Regions from separate parts of the Homo sapiens genome. Here region 2 is linked to region 1. Evidence: promoter capture Hi-C in 16 types of primary human blood cells and fetal thymus (Javierre and others, 2016). All regions are on one chromosome and are shown on one strand. The core of a region is centred on a gene start or on the middle of the fragment in contact, and the rest is flanking DNA. Distances in the headings are between cores, read along the strand shown.

Region 1 (5,267 bases), core at 2,243-4,742:
TCTTTACCTGTTCAACCAATTATGTATTGAAGTGATGGGGAACCAGTGGGCGGCAGGAAGGGAGTCGGGTATCTTTCTCTTTCAATAGATTGTGAGTTTCTTGAAGACAGGGACCACATCTTGCTCATCTAAGTAGTACCTGTGCCTGAGAAAAGTGTTCAGATCCTCAAAGATTTTCACTAAGTGCTCTTCACCCAGTGGAATGCTGCACTTATTTTTGTTTAGGGGGTTTCAGGTCTTGTTCAGCATTTATGCATTACAACCACGAGGGGGCAATATAGTCACATTCCTTGTAATGACCACCCAGTGGTGTTGCCTCCACGTTAGAGCCCCTAATATGATGAGCCCCCCTAAAATGCATTGGAGAAACTGTGGCATAAACATCTCACCAACACTGGCATTCTTTGTATATCCTTCTCCTGTTTATTTGGAGGAGTTGACTGATTCTATCTTTTCTAAACAATATAAGGATCAACTAGCAATCACCATTTTATTAAGTTATGCAAGTGCAGACAGCTTCTGGAAGGAAGAAATGAAAATGAGATGGTGGAGAAGGGGTGGTACAGGGGAAACCTTCATGTAAATGTTATCAGTAGTATCAGGGATGATCAATTGGCACAATGTTATCTATGGTGTTTTTCAGGGAAGTCTTGGAGGGAACACTACTGAAGAAGTTACAGATTCTGTGTCTATATGAAGCAGAAGACCTCAATCCTTCCTCTGTCCCCTGAATGAGTCTTCTCCCAGTTCCTATATGTCCGAATCATAGGCTCCGAAAATTAAGTTTCTCGTTGCTCATATCTTTTCAGAAGGAATGTCCTCTCCTAAGAGCAAGAGGGTAGTGAGATGAAAAAGAAATCTATTGCCTTTAAAAGGAAAGACCCTGAGAAAATAAAAAAAGAGTGTTTTGCTTTTTAGTAAACTGCTGTGCTGAATCACGACTAAATTGGTGATCTGTGACATCAAAGGGTCATAAACAGCCTAGCTTGAGTCCAAAAGAACTGAGGCCTCCATTTTCACAGTAAAAGAATGCCTATTCCAAAATAATTTTTGAGAATGAATGAAATCTAAAACAAGATAAGCAGTCCTGTTTACAGTTATCATGGGGTATTGAAATAGTTGGCGTGGAAGTTGGGTGACTCAGTGGGCAGGACATTTGGGGTCAGAGCACTTGGGAAGTCAGGCTGACCTGCGTTAAAGCCTCAGCTCTGCTCCTAACTAGTGACTACGGTCAGATGCCCTCCCTTCCCTAAGCGCCAGTTTTACATTGCTCATATGTAAAATACAGGAATGGGGAAATTGGACAAATGATCTCACAACCTCTCCCAGATCTAAACAATCATATATTTCTTTTCCAGGAAGTAGCTTACGTATTTGTCCTTAACTTCCTGTTTCAAGAAGACAGCTTTTTGTTTTTAGATGCAATATAAAAACAAAATAACAATCACGCAAATTGCTATTTTTCTTTTTTTTTTTTTGAGATGGAGTTTCACTCTTGTTACTCAGGCTGGAGTGCAATGGCGCAATCTCGGCTCACTGCAATCTCTGCCTCCCGGGTTCAAGCGATTCTCCTGCCTCAGCCTCCCAAGTAGCCGGGATTACAGGCATATGCCATCACATCTGGCTAATTTTGTATTTTTATTAGAGACAGGGTTTCATCATGTTGGTCAGTCTAGTCTCGAACTCCTGATACCAGGTGATCTGACTGCCTCGGCCTCCCAAAGTGCTGGGATTACAGGCATGAGCCACCGTGCCAGGCCGCAAATTGCTATTTTTCAATTCACATTTACTTTACCTTTTCTTAGGGCAAGATCTGGCAGAGTCTAAGATATGGTGGAAACTAATATAAAAGGATTTTTCCAATGAAATAAGAATAGGATGTTGCTATTTAAACTTCATATACATTTAAAATGTGCTAGTTTGTATGCAGAACAGAAACTCAAACTCAGTATTTGCCCCTAGCTGCTTACATTGGAAGGCAGTGGTGGCAGTTTACTCAAAATGAGTAAGAAAATAAATCAGCTTACAACTCTAGACTGTACAGACATGCAGGCTGCCTTTTACGTTTCTGACTCCTGATTTATTTTTCTTTCCCACCTTCCCACGGCGAAGGGCAGTCAATGAATACTCAGATCAAGTGTCTGTCTGGAAAGCTGGCAGTCTTCCAGAAATACAATTAGGTATGAAAGAAAAGTCCCATCCCTCACCTCCATAGAATATTACTCCAACTCTTTCACAGCAGGAACACTAGAGTGGGAATGAGAAGTGTGGCCCTTGTGTGTTACGTTACTTCTTTTGAGAGTATGGTCATATCCATCCGTTTGTAGCATTACACAAGGAGTCAGTTAAGGTACAAGGGGTGTGAGACCCAGTGACTGCCCCCAAAGTGCTTGTCACTAGAGCTTCTCTCCCTCACCTCTACTTGGCCTTGACATTTGGGTTCGTTCAGAGGGTTGCCCCATACTGCCTTTGGGTTCGTTCAGAGGGTTGCCCCATACTGCCTTCTGGTAAAATCTTGGCGCCCTAGGCCTAAGCCTGCTCATCTTGTGCCTCCTTTTCCTCCTCCTCAGGGCCCATTCCAGTGGAACAGAAGTGCTACTTTGGGGGTGGACTGAAACAAGTTGCTGGGCTTCCATTGGCCATTGCCACTTGCTTGTCGTTGTGAGGAGGGGCCGTGCCTCCACAGGCCCATACCTGTAACCTGACGATACTGTTGTGAGCGGGAATGGAGGAAGTGCATGGAAGCCCCTCAGCACGATGCATAGTGAACAGACAAGCTGTGAACCTTGGGAGTTATCACCATGTGTGATGATGCTGGTGAAGAAAGCCTGCACTGAGGAGGCTGTCAGCCTGGGTTTGAATCCCCTCATTTGGAATATAATCTTGGCAAAGTCTGAAAGCCTCAATTGCTCGTTTGTAAAACTGGAAGATAGTAGGACTTGCTGCCCGGGGTCGGGGCAGGATGGAGGGGGCCCATGAGAATTAAGGCAGAGCCCAGCGGAGTGCATTGTAAGGATCCATGAGTGTGAACCTTCGTTTTTACTACTGCATATGAGGATCCTGCCAACAAACCTGGCGGCTTCAAGCATCCTTGCCCTTAACCAAATAAGCTCTTAGGTCCTAGAGGCAGGAAGACTTCCTTGAAGAGGCGCGGGAGGCTGGTGAGGGGAGTGGAGGACGCTCTGGGACCCTCTGGGGGTGGGGCGGGCGGGGTGAACTTGACCCCAGGCCGCGTGCCGGGCGTGCCATCTGCCGCTCCGCTGCAAGGTCTCGCCCGGGACCGGGGCTGGCGGAGCGCGCGCCCGCGAGTAGGGGCCGGGCCGGGGACCCCGCCTAGGCGGCGGCGGCCGGGTCCCCAAGGCTGGGCGCTGCTTGCGGAACCGACGGGGCGGAGAGGAGCGTGGCGGGAGGAGGAGTAGGAGAAGGGGGCTGGTCAAGGGAAGTGCGACGTGTCTGCGGAGCCTTTTTATACCTCCTTCCCGGGAGTCCGGCAGCCGCTGCTGCTGCTGCTGCTGCTGCTGCCGCCGCCGCCGCCGCCGTCCCTGCGTCCTTCGGTCTCTGCTCCCGGGACCCGGGCTCCGCCGCAGCCAGCCAGCATGTCGGGGATCAAGAAGCAAAAGACGGTAGGCTTCCAGGCGCCGGCTTCCCTCCCCGCCACCGCACTGCACGCGCCGACCCCCAACCCCCAATTCCCCGGCACTTGGGTCCCACCCTCCCCGGGAGGGGGCGTCGGGAGGAGGAGTAAGAGTGGGGCACGGAGGGAAGCAAGAGAAAGAGGCTCTGTGTGGAATTCCCGGGGCAGTCCTCGCCCCGCAGCCCCTCTCCACCCCGCGACTCTGGGAATCTGCGCTCCTTGGGGTCGCCGCGCCCGCGAGAGACCTCCCGAGCTTCTCAAGTGGGTCCGGATCTAGATCCAGGACCAGGGACAGGAAATCCCCTTTCTTTCCCAAGAGCTCTTCCAGACCCGCCTTTTCTTCTGTAGGGTCTCGGAGCAGATCGAGCTGACTCCCGTTCTGCCAGGTCTGGTCGCTGGGGTTTTGTCTATGGGAACTTCCTTGGAGTGGGCTTTAATGACGGACTTTCATAGAGGAAACTGCAATTATCAAAGCAAACTGGAGGAAATTGCATTTCTACACTGGCGGGATTTAGCCCTCTAGCTTGATTTCGGCATTGGGTGGCATCTCGAGTTCAGTAATGAGGGGTGAGGGTGCCCCTCGGTTTGGTGGAGTAAGATGAGGGGACTGTGTTGAGGAGGCACACTTTTACCCAGAATTAATAATCTGAGCTGTCCTCCTTTAATGGGAAATATGAGGGCGTGTCAAAGAGAAAAGTTTCTTTCCCAGCAACATGGGCACCTATAAATTTTGCATTCTTAAAAATGGCAGCAGTTCTATTTGTCAATTATACCCCAATAAACTGAAAAAAAAAAAAAAAAAAAAAAAAAAAAAACCGGGAGCAGTAATCATAGACTCTTAGAGTTGGATGGCGCCTTCTAGACAGCACTGGGGCCACGTCAGATGTGGTCAGCAAGCCTTGATAAAATCCTACTCAGCAGTTTGGCCGCTGAACATTCTATCTTCAGCCACCACCCTGCAAGCCTCAGATGATTGTACTGGTTACTGAATGGGTTGACCTCTCTCTAGTAGATAGACGTGCAATGGACACATAGTAGGTGCCTGATAAATGTTTATTCTTATATAATGTGTATTACCGAAATATCTTTGAGGTGTATTTGTGGTGGGCCGGGGAGAGGTTTAAAAAAAAAAACAAAATATAAAGCCAAGAAGTGGGGAAGGAGTGTGGAGGGGCCATGCAGGGCTAGAAGGGTCATTTGAGCAGCAAGAGAACAGGGTGGGGGCTCTGTGGCTCCAGGGACCATACTGGACCAGCAGGAGGGTCCAGGGTGTAGGTGGCATCAATTTGGGAAGGGACATTTATCAAAATCCAGCTGCCTTTCTCAGGAGTAATTTTTAAGTGGGGGACTCTCAGCGTTGTAACATATTTTTGAAATAATAAATGAAAATCACTTGTATTTTGTTCCTATTTAATGCGATTAATTTCTGTAAAATCCTAAATAGTGTCTTCTAAATGGCAAGCCGCTGTGCCAGTAGCTTTTTATATCAGTGGGGTTTTAATTCCCACCTTCCTGCTTGCATCAAGAATTCCTTCTCAGTTGTGATGGGGGACTTTGTCAAGCATTAGAAAGGGACGAGGTGGTCTCTCCTCTTGATGCCTCCAGTCGGCAGGAGCCCAGGAAGAGGAGGGTT
Region 2 (5,391 bases), core at 1,413-3,912, 98 kb after region 1:
TTACCTAAGCAAAATTTACGAACTGGTTGGTTATTTCTCCTCTTAATCTTATATATAAGAATAAAAACCTGGCCAGTAGCGGTGGCTCACACCTGTAACCCTAGCACTTTGGGAGGCCAAGGCGGGTGGATCACCTGAGGTCAGGAGTTCGAGACCAGCCTGGCCAACATGTCGAAATCCCGTCTCTACTAAAAATACAAAAATTAGCCGGGCATGGTGATGGGCGCCTATAATCCCAGCTGAGACTGAGACAGGAGAATCGCTTGAACCTGGGGAGAGAGGTTGCAGTGAGCCGAGATCACACCACTTCACTCCAGCCTGGGCAAAAGAGCGAAACTCCGTCTCAAAAAAAAGAATAAAACCTTTGGAAGGTAGATTCTGAGGGTGCACTAACGATGATGAGACCAGAGCCACTGCATATACAGCTACCAGTTGACAGAGTAGCTTTCATGCAGACCTTTCTATATCAAAGCTCGCAAAACATTTTTTTGCTGAAGTTTGCTATGGCAACACACTGCAATTAAATATATGAATACCACAGGCAAGGAGTGAAATCCCTAGGAAGGTGAGGAAGGGAGACCAAGAGACAAAGGGACAAGAGTTGGAGAATTCCTTTAACACAACCCCTAAAAGTACACTGGAGTTCACCAAGAATCACAGAAATTGTTAGAAGGCTGATATTCTGAAAAGAAATGCAGTATAATACTGGTTCCAGGCAAGTGGCATTTTAGGAAACTTCCTTTAGGACATGGTTCACCAGGGCTGAACTATTCCAGTTCATTAGTATCTTTGCTGAAATAAGGCTGTTAAAAAAATTGGATTCTCAACTTCACTATACTTTGGAACTGGTTCCAAGTAAAATTGCTGCAGTGATAAATGGTTTCTTTGTTCAGTAAATACATTTTCGTTAACAAATTGAGGTCTAGTCTTCAATATCTCCAATTTACATGGGAAATTTCCCCTCACATTTACATGTGAAATTTCCACGGATCATCAGAAGAAATTCACCTTTTTTCTCCTTCATTCTAGACCCTTCCCACAATTCTGCCCTCCTTCATTTTCAGAATTCTGCTTTGGAAAAATGGCAATAAATAAAGTTGCAGGGGGTGATAATCCAAATTTACCTTTTATTTCATAAGCGGTGTTTCTAATATAAAGCAAAATAAAAGAAACTAACCTAAAAGCTCTAAAAGATTTTGACAAGTGTTAAAAATCAAGTCAAAATAACATACCTTTCTTCTGATGTAGAATTAACATATTCTCTAACACAGAGGAGGGCAGCATCTCGACACATCTCTTTTAGGTCACTTCCTGAAAACCCATCAGTTTCCTGGGCAACTTCTAGCAGGTCTACATGCCTATCCACCTTAAACAAATATAAAAACATGCTTAAAAAACAAAAATAAATATATTGTAAATGATACTACCAAACACCCATCTTAAAGAAAGTTAAGCATATTATAACTGCATGGGAGGAGAAACAATAGTTTCTAGAAGCTTTTTTTAACCACAAAAGCTTAGAAATTTGAAATATAATTTTCATTATTTGTCCTTATGATTAAGACAAATAATTATTACTAGATACACTGTAGAGTGATGGGGAAGAACGGATATTGGACTTTCTTTGATATCTCTCAAGAAGGTACCAAGGTGACATTTTTCTGTAATACATTCAACATACAGTACTTGGCAAATAACCTACATCAAGAGTCCATTACAAAAAAAAAAAAACAAAACACTCAACATTCCTTTTAATTGTAATGCTTGGTATTCTATTATCTCAACATGAATTTAGCACCTATACTTTTGCTCCTCAAGCTAAGCTTATAGTCAAGCCAATTAAGTGACTGTCCTAGCCACATAATAGACTTGAGATAGTCTAATCATACTAAACTTATGTACAGATTAAGAAGAGAAAATAAGCAAGAAAAAAATCTATAACTACCATCTAGTAAATGATTCTTATGTCTCATTCACTGGGGTAAGCACTTTGCATGTATTATTCTCATTTAATCTTCTCAGAAACTATCAATTTCATTTTCAGATAAGAATCATGAGACCTGGACAGGTAAACACGGTCAGAGCCAGGATTTGAACACAATATAGTGAGGTCCAGCTGTATTTTTCCCCTGTTCAGCTCATCACTTGTTACAGCAACATTTACTTTCCCCCACTGATGTGAAATGACACCTTATAGTTACTAAATTCCCATTTGTATTTGTATTATATTTACTAAATTCCCATTTGTATACGTGGAAGACACAGTGTTTTAGGAAGAACAGCAACTCTACACAAGGACAAGAGACTTGAAGGTGAGACAACACTGCCAGCTCTGCAACTGTGACCTCACATGACAGTGCTCTCATTCCTAAACATGAGGGTTACATGAAGATAAATCATGTTTTTTGATAAAAAGAAACTGAACCCAGAGGGCAGGAGTGCAAGCAGCAATGATAAGCAAAGCAAATGGTAAATACATGGATAAATCTAAATAAACTTTAGCTATATAAATAGTAGTAATAATAGTTATTATAGTAGTCATAATCATTTGGGGTACAAAAACAAAGTGGAGCTAAAATGCTGTACAATAAGGACATGTAAGACAGAGGAGACATCTACATTAAAGTACTCTAAAGTGTTACAATTAAAGCATTAAAAAGAGGGTACAGATATTATTAACTTAGACTTTATGTATGTATGTCAAAATACATAGGTACCACTAAAGGATAGAAAGGGTACACTAAAGGAAGAAAGAGAATGTGTAATTTCCAAACCAATAGAGGAAGGGAGAAAAACAGAATAAAGAATACAAGAGCAGTATTAACAAACTCAGGACTAGAGGGTTGGGACAAATAAGCAAAGAAAAAGCATAATAAATGGAAAGCATTAAAATAATAATGAATGAATCCAAATTTATGAGTAATTACCATAAATGCAAATAGACTAAACTTGGCTGGTAAAAGATTTTATACAAAAGAACCCAAAATGTAGCTATTTGAGGTTTATAATAGACAATACTTATGCTAAAGGGAAAAAAACAGTCTTTGTGTTACATTTGAAATAAAAACAAAGAAAAGCAGGAAGTAAAAGACTGAAAGACATCAACGATTAATAAAAAGAAAGCTAATGTAGTTCTAGTTACATCAGATTTTTACTCAAAATGCATAATTGAGAAGTCATTATATAATGATAAAAAAAAATTCACCAGAAAAATACAACAATTCTGCCCCTGTAGACATACATGTAACATGGCCTCAAAACATATACAGCAGAAATTTATATAATTACATATAAAAATGGGCAAATTCACAATACTGGAAGATTTTTAACTTATGTCTCATGTACTGCCACATCAGTGAGTTCTTAGGACCGGTGACAGCACCTGTGATCTCATGTACATACATGTATATAATTTAGATCTTAGTCCTTTGATGGTTATAGGGTTGCAAATATTTTCATTGTGGCTTGTTTTTTCACTTTGTTCATGTTACCCCGTGACACAGAAGCTTTAAGTCTGATTATAGTCAGACTTCTCTATTCTCTTTCCTTTGTAGTTTTTAATTTTTTGTGAATTGAGAAACTCTTCTCATGTGTCCTTAAGAAACAGACACATACAAGGATCTAATTTTTCTACTGTTTGTAAAAAGAATAAAAATAACATATACCTATACACATGCATTAGGTATCTGTTCACATATATTCACGGGATTGATAAACTCTATCAACTCCTGGACAGCAGGTTACCAATGACGGTGATAATGGGAAGTGGCCAGTGGTTGCTTAAGGCTGTACTTAATTAAAAAAAAAATGAAGCAAATGTGGAAATATATTAAAATTGCCTGTTAAATATGGGTGGAAGATAATGGGGCTATTTGTTTATATGTTTGAAATATTTCATACATTTAACAAACTACTTTAAAGAGCTTTCCAAACTATACTCTGAGATGTTAAAAATTAAACATCCAACACTTCCTCCTGTCTTTTGACCACTCCGTTGTTGGGCCACCCTATGTTCTAACCACTCACAAATCTTGTGCCTGATAAGATGATACAGTTAGAAAGATGAACCAACCAAGTATAAGAAAACAAAGAAAAGAAGATTCCAGTCACTGGGGGAGCAAGATTTAATTAAGAGGTACCATACCCTAATGGTTAAGAGTAGGCTCCATCACTTCTTTGTGTAATCCTGGGCAAGTTATTACAAAACTTCTCTGGGTTTCAGTTTCCTCAGCTGTAAAATAGGACTAATATGTACTCCTTAGATAAATGAGGATTAAATAAAACAATGTATAGCTCACCAAAATGCTTGGCACATAGCAAGCACTCTAAAAGTAGCTCATTTTGTTCTAAGATAATAGCTTTTAGATAAACCATGAAATAATGAGAACTCTTTTCATTAGGCAACTCTGAAGGCAATTCCCAAGTTAAAAAGCTTTTGAGTATAGGCAGCAACAGCAGAATAAGTTAACAGACTTCTAAAATAGCTTGAAAGAATGATACTTACTTATGCAGTTGTTTATTATTATATCCACCATTAATAGTATACTTGTAAATAACATCTATGTACTCTAAGCATTTTACACTTATAATTTTATTTCAAGACCAGCTGGGGCAAATGATGAGACCCTGATATGGTCTGGCTCTGTGTCCCCACCGAAGTCTCATGTTGAATTTAATTCCCAGTGTTAGGGGGAGGGACCTGGTGGGAAGTGATTGGATTATGGGGACAGACTTCCCCCTTGTTCTCATGATAGTGAGTGAGTTCTCTCAAGATCTGATGGTTTAAAAATGTGTGGCACTTCCCCCTTCACTCTCTCCCACTCCTGCTCTGCCATGGTAAGACATGCTTGCTTCCCCTTCGCCTTTGACCATGATTGTTAAGTTTCCTGAGGCCTCCCAGCCATGCTTCCTGTACAGCTTGTGGAACGGTGAGTCAATTAAACCTCTTTTCTTCATAAGTTATCCAGTCTCAGGTAGTTCTTTATAGCGGTTTGAGAACGGGCTAACACAGACCCCATCTCAACAAAAAAAATTTTGTTAACTAGCTGGGTGTGTCTAGCTACTCAGGAGGTTGAGGCAGGAGGATCACTTGAGCCAAGGAGTTCAAGGCTGCAGTGAGCTAGGATTACACCACTGCATTCCAGTCTGGCTAGAATGATGAGGCTGGTCAGCTAGAATGTAGGAGACTGTCAGTTCTGTCTCAAAACAAAAAACAAAAACTATTGCTGCTATATCATACAAAAGTAATTTCAGGTCAGTTTGTATAGGGAAAAAAGCTACCTCCTTAAAGTCAGACGAAATACTTTTATAGGGTATAAATTTTATCAGTGCTAATTCTTTTTATACTTAAAACCTTAAGCCAAAATCACTACACTATCTTTTTAAAATAAG

Evidence for each region. Contacts are between HindIII fragments. The CHiCAGO score rates a contact against its expected background, and 5 or more counts as called.
Region 2: a fragment that was not itself captured here is called in contact with the fragment with the promoter of PAPSS2 in region 1 in 2 of 17 cell types (megakaryocytes and endothelial precursors); the score reaches 5.1 in megakaryocytes.

What each region holds. Positions count from the first base shown.
Region 1 is chr10:87,656,386-87,661,652 of GRCh38, forward strand. PAPSS2 (3'-phosphoadenosine 5'-phosphosulfate synthase 2) reads left to right here and starts at 3,493. Exons shown (of 13, transcript NM_001015880.2): 1 at 3,493-3,623. The coding sequence starts at 3,597. RefSeq lists a silencer at 3,241-3,480. The HindIII fragment of the contact is 6,673 bases long and covers 1-5,267 here.
Region 2 is chr10:87,755,557-87,760,947 of GRCh38, forward strand. It overlaps ATAD1 (ATPase family AAA domain containing 1), which reads right to left. Exons shown (of 10, transcript NM_001321967.2): 9 at 1,233-1,366. Among named protein-coding and RNA genes, the nearest start is that of ATAD1, 60 kb to the right of the region's middle. The HindIII fragment of the contact is 1,683 bases long and covers 1,822-3,504 here.